Regions from separate parts of the Homo sapiens genome. Here region 1 is linked to region 2. The links are contacts of gene promoters, found by promoter capture Hi-C in human tissues and cell types (Jung and others, 2019). All regions are on one chromosome and are shown on one strand. Each heading gives the region's core, a stretch centred on a gene start or on the middle of the fragment in contact. The rest is flanking DNA. Distances are from core to core; before and after follow the strand shown.

Region 1 (2,700 bases), core at 99-2,598, 62 kb before region 2:
TAAGTTTTCTGAGGCCTCCCCAGCCATGCTGAACTGTGAGTCAATGAAACCTCTTTCCTTTATAAAGCACCCAGTCTCGGGGATGTCTTTATTAGCAGCGTGAGAATGAACTAATACACAATCTAACACAATATGTGATCCTGGATTGGATCTGTCCCATCAGCGGAACAACTGACAAAATTTAAATTAAGGTGTACAGATTAGTTAATGGTATCAGCGTTAATTTCCTGGTTTTGTTAATTGTATCGTGGTTATATATCATGCACTTTAGGGGAGCTGGGTAAAGTATATATGGGTTTGGGTTTTGTTTTTTAGTATATTTGCAACTTTTTTGTAAATCTGAAATTATTTCTAAATTAAACATTTTAAAATGTAAAGAAAAGTATCCAGCCGGGTGCGGTGGCTCACGCCTGTAATCCCAGCACTTTGGGAGGCCAAGGCAGGGGGATCACAAGGTCAGGGGATCAAGATCATCCTGGCTAACACGGTGAAACCCCATCTCTACTAAAAATACAAAAAATTAGCTGGATGTGGTGGTGCGCACCTGTAGTCCCAGCTGCTCGGGAGGATGAGGCAGGAGAATTGCTTGAACCCAGGAGGCAGAGGTTGCAGTGAGCCGAGATTGCGCCACTGCACTCCAGCCTGGGTGACAGAGCAAGACTCTGTCTCAAAAAAAAAAAAAAAAAAAAAAAAAAGAAAGAAAGAGAAGTATTCAGTGGTGATCTTAGAAGAGTAGTTTCTCTGGTGTTTTGGGGACAGAAGCCAAATTACCCCAAGTTAAGAAATGAACAAGAGCTGAAATGATGCAGAGGCACCTTTCTTAAGAAGTTGACTATGAAATGGAGCAATGCAAAGACATCAGTGGGTGGCTGAAGGAAGCCATGTTGGGTACTGTTTTCTTAAGATGTAACTGGACGCTGTCTCCTGGACATCATCCACGTTCTAAAACCTCCAAATTCAACTCTTCTCTCCTCCGTCTGTACTGACATGCTAAAGACCTTTTGGAAATTAATCTGAAAGCAACAGAGGAGCTCTTGATGGATTTAAAGAGGAGACAAAATAATCAGGTTTTTTGCACTTTAATACCAGTTCCGTTGCCAGCATAGATATTGGAGGGTAATGATATTGGAGTCAGGGAAACCATTTAAGAGATTCTTGTAGTTGTCCAAGACAGAGGGATGACAACCTAACCTAAGGCAGTAACAGTAAAAATAGAAAGGAGGAGAAGAAGGGGTAGGTGTGATGGCTCATGCCTGTCATCCCAGCACTTTGGGAGGCTGAGGTGGGAGGATTGCTCGAAGTTGGGAGTTGGAGACCAGCCTAGGCAAAAGAGTGAAACCTTGTCTTTAATAAAAATAATTTTTTTTTTGAGATGGAGTTTTGCCGTTGTCGCCCAGGGTGGAGTGCAGTGATGCAGTCTCAGCTCACTGCAACCTTGCCTCCTGGGTTTAGGCAATTCTCCTGCCTCAGCCTCCCTAGCTGGGATTACAGGCAACCACTCCGATGCCCAGCCAATTTTTGTGTTTTTAGTAGAGACGGGGTTTTGCCATGTTGGCCAGGCTGGTCTTGAACTCCTGACATCAGGTGATCTGCCCACTTTGGCATCCCAAAGTGCTAGGATTACAGGTGTGAGCCACTGCACCTGGCCTATTGATTTATTTATTTTAGAGACAGGAGTCTCACTCTGTTGCCCAGGCTGGACTCGAACTCCTGGGCTTAAGGGATCCTCCTGCTTCAGCTTCCCAAGTAGCTAGGACTACAGGCAAGCATCCCTGTGCCCAGCTTATTTATTTTAGAAAGAGCTTTTGGAAATAAAATGTTCATAACAAAAGTTTTAAATTCAATAGAAGATAAAATTGTGGAACTCTTCTATTAAAGGTAGAATAAAAAAATAAAGAAAATAGGTGGTATGGAATCAAATAACAAAATCAGTGACACAGACCAGGAGGTGTAGTTTCTGGCTAATAAGAGTTCTGGGGGCAGGGTAGGGAAGCAAAAAAGAAAATAGAAGAAGCTTTCAATGAAGAAATGCAAGAAAACCTCCAGGACTGAAGAACATGAGTTTCTAGAATGAAAGGCTCACCAATTAGCACAGTGAACAAATGAAAAAGAAAAAAAAACACCGATCATCAAGGCATATTTTCCTGAAATTTTAGAACACTGGAAATAAACAAAGATCCTGTGGTAGGCAGGATAACTGCCCCTTGCCCCAGGATGTCTATGTTCTAATACCCAGAACCCTGTGAATTTGTTAGGTTATGGCAAGGGGGAATTGAGCTTGCTAATCATCCGATTTTAACACAGGGAGACTATCCTGGATTATCTGGATGGGTCCAGTGTAACCACAAGAGTCCTTAAAAGTTCAAGAGGGAGGCACAAAAGGTAGAACTGGATGAATGGCAGCCTGCGAAGGACTTGGCCCAAGACTGCTGGCTCTGAGATGAAGGAAGGGACCATGAGCCAAGTAAAGTGGGCAGCTTCTAGAAGCTGAAAAGGCAAGAAGATAGATTCTCTCCTAGAGCCTCTGGAAGGAATACATCCAGCCAACACTTAGATGGCCCAGTGAGATCCGTGTTGGACTTCTGATCTACTATAAAATAGTAAGTTTGGCCGGCATGGTGGCTTACACCTGTAATCCCAGCACTTTGGGAGGCCGAGGAGGGCGGATTGCCTGAGGTCAGGGATTTAAGACCAGCCTAG
Region 2 (2,700 bases), core at 73-2,572:
CTGTCAAAAAAAAAAAAAAAAAAGGTAATAGCTCTTTACCTTTAATAGCTCATGGAATGACTCTCAAACCAAGAAATTTTTACTTAATCCTTTTACACGAAACAAACTGGAAAGAACACAGAAACTTAATGATTTCTACACTAGAGTCTAATGAGGAATAAGGCTTTCCAAGGAAAAACAGGCAAAGCACCAGAGGTGAGGTGCAAAGGGCTGTGGGCGCTGAAGGAGCGATGGGGAAGCAGGAGGCAGGGTCCTTCTGATCCAAGCCTCAAAGAAAACGGATCAAGACAGGGAAGGCGCAAGGGGCTTCCAGAAGAACGCGGGTTTAGTGTGGGATGCAGGGTTTTTGTTCGTTTTGTTTGTTGTTGTTTAGCAGAGAAGATATGGCAGAGAAAGCTCGAGGTTGAGGCCCCTTTAGCAAGGGCTCTGTGCGCCCAGCTCAAGCGTGCAGTACTTAGTTTAGCAGACAATGATGCCTCCCTGAGGACTTGGGGCAGGGGCTGGAAGGTCACAGCCCTTCTGGAAAGAGCAGCGAGGGTTGGAAGGAGGTCGTAAGTGACTGGATGAGGGCTGAGAACAGGAATGCTGTTGACAGCAAGGTGGTGGTACCAGGCTCACTCTCTGCTTCCTGAGTCTGCAGAGCAGTGGAGAATCCCGCGCGGGCACCCAGGGTGGCTACGGCAGCTAACAGCTCGGACCCGTCACTGTGGGCATGGCCTGGCGCCCTGACGTGCCACACCACGGTGCCACCCTCCCTTTATTTTCCACATCAACCGTCTGGGTGTGGGGGCTGCTCAACAGGACCACGACCTAAAACCTGGAAAGACGGCTGGCCTGACTCCGCGGCTGCTGCGCCCCCAGCAGGCGCGGACCGCCGGGCACCCCTTGTCCCTCCATCTTTTCGCCACGCGTTGAGGTCGACCCCAGGGAGAGGCGGTGACCTCGGCGCCCGCGCCTCTCCGGGACAGCCTGGGGCTCCACGGCGCGCGCCCTGGCCCCGGGTACTTTAGGGAGACGGGGATTACCATGGCGATTCTCAGCCGAGCAGGCAGGCGTGGTGGACTCTCCCGATCCCGAAGCCCTTAGCATCCACCGGGGCCGCTGCCCCCAGCGCCCGTTCCCCTAGCACCCCCGGCCCCTTCTCGGCCCTCCTCAGGGAACCGCCACGGGCCCAGCCTCACTACGCCTCCCCGCCACGCCTCGCTGGGAGGAGCGCGGCCGGCTCGGGAGGCAGCCAGCCGCGGAGCCGCCTGGACGCGAGGCACCTGCTTGCCCCACGCGGCACCTAGGCCGCCGCAGCTGTGGGCGCTGGGCCGGCGTGCGCCTCGGGGGCGGGGCCGCGCGCACAATCACCGGGCGTGGGGCAGGGCCTCGCCGTGGTTACCGTTGCCAGGGCAAAGCGGCAGCGCGCGGAGGGTGAGCGGAGCGGGGTTCCGGGCTTGCGCGCGCGGGATGGGCCGTCACCTAGTACGAGGCCGACCGCGGCCTCCAGCGCCCGGAAACCCAGTTCGGCGCTTTAGCGTCTGGGTTTGGGCTGCCGGAGCGGCGGGCGCGGGGCGAGGGGGCGGGCGCGGGGCGAGGGGGCGGGCGCGGGGCGAGGGGGCGGGCGCGGGCGGCGCTCCCACTGGGGTGGCACTGGGGTGAGAGCGCAGGCTAGGCCCGCTCACTCGGCCAACCTGGGAGAGATCATCGGAGAAGCTCTTTTGGGAAACGAGCATAAGGACTGTGACGGTGAAGGGAGAATATCATGGGAAATGTTTGCAAAAGAGCCGGATAAAGAGAGTAAGGGCCCGAGAGACTAAAGGGGTGGGGAGGGAGTTCATGTGCAGGTAGGATTGGGCGAGAAAGGTACAGTAGGTACAGTTTTGCCTCCAACCTTGCCAGTTCCAGCCTCCCTCCCTGCAGGTGAAGTCTACACTTCGGGTGGTACGACTCATTCTTTTTTATGACTGGTCATTCCTTTTTTTTTTTTTTGAGACCGAGTCTCTCTCTGTCGCCCAGGTTGGAGTGCAGTGGCGCCATCTCGGTTCACTGCAACCTCCGCCTCCCAAGTTTAAACCATTCTCCTGCCTCAGCCTCTTGAGTAGCTGGGATTACAGATGCGTACCACTATGCCCGGCTAATTTTTGTATTTTTAGTAGAGATGGGGTTTCGCCATGTTGGTCACGCTGGTCTCGAACTTCTGACCTCAGGTGATCTGCCCGCCTCAGCCTCCCAAAGTGCTGGGATTACAGACGTGAGCCACTGCCCGGCCTATCATTCCTTTTTATTCAACAGTTATTGAGCATCTGCCACGTGCCTGACACTCTTCCAGGCCCTGGAAATTGAGCTCTGAATGAGGCAAAGTCCTTGTTCTTTTAAGGGGTGATTTGGGGGAGGTGGTCGTGGCTGAAATGGAGGGCCTGGCAGACATTAAAAGTGATAGGGACAGTATGGCATATTGCATTAAATTGATGTGACCACTGGGTGCTCTTTTAGATTGGTGACTGGGGAAGGCCTCTCTGAGGAGGTGACGTTAAAACAGATCTGGATGACAAGGAGCAGTCAATTATGCCAAAATTAGGGACAGGGGGAGGAGGCTAGACCAAGAAGCAGGAGTAGGGTCCTGGAAGGCTCTGCAAGGATGTGGTGTTTTGTTTGCTTTCTCTTGAAAGACAAACTGGCTTCCAAAGAGGACTGTTTATGTTCTAGGTTCTCTTA

What was found. The method cuts DNA at HindIII sites, captures the fragments that hold promoters and counts their contacts. A contact is called where the count stands out against the background at its distance.
Region 1: a contact is called between a fragment that was not itself captured here and the fragment with the promoter of SMKR1 in region 2, in 2 of the 25 tissues and cell types used here (liver and mesenchymal stem cells).

The regions. Positions count from the first base shown.
Region 1 is chr7:129,563,325-129,566,024 of GRCh38, reverse strand. No RefSeq gene overlaps it. Among named protein-coding and RNA genes, the nearest start is that of NRF1, 47 kb to the left of the region's middle. The HindIII fragment of the contact is 7,858 bases long and covers 1-2,700 here.
Region 2 is chr7:129,501,153-129,503,852 of GRCh38, reverse strand. It overlaps SMKR1 (small lysine rich protein 1), which reads right to left and starts at 1,322. Exons shown (of 2, transcript NM_001195243.2): 1 at 1,026-1,322. The coding sequence starts at 1,028. RefSeq lists silencers at 1,174-1,513, 1,574-1,623. The HindIII fragment of the contact is 29,122 bases long and covers 1-2,700 here.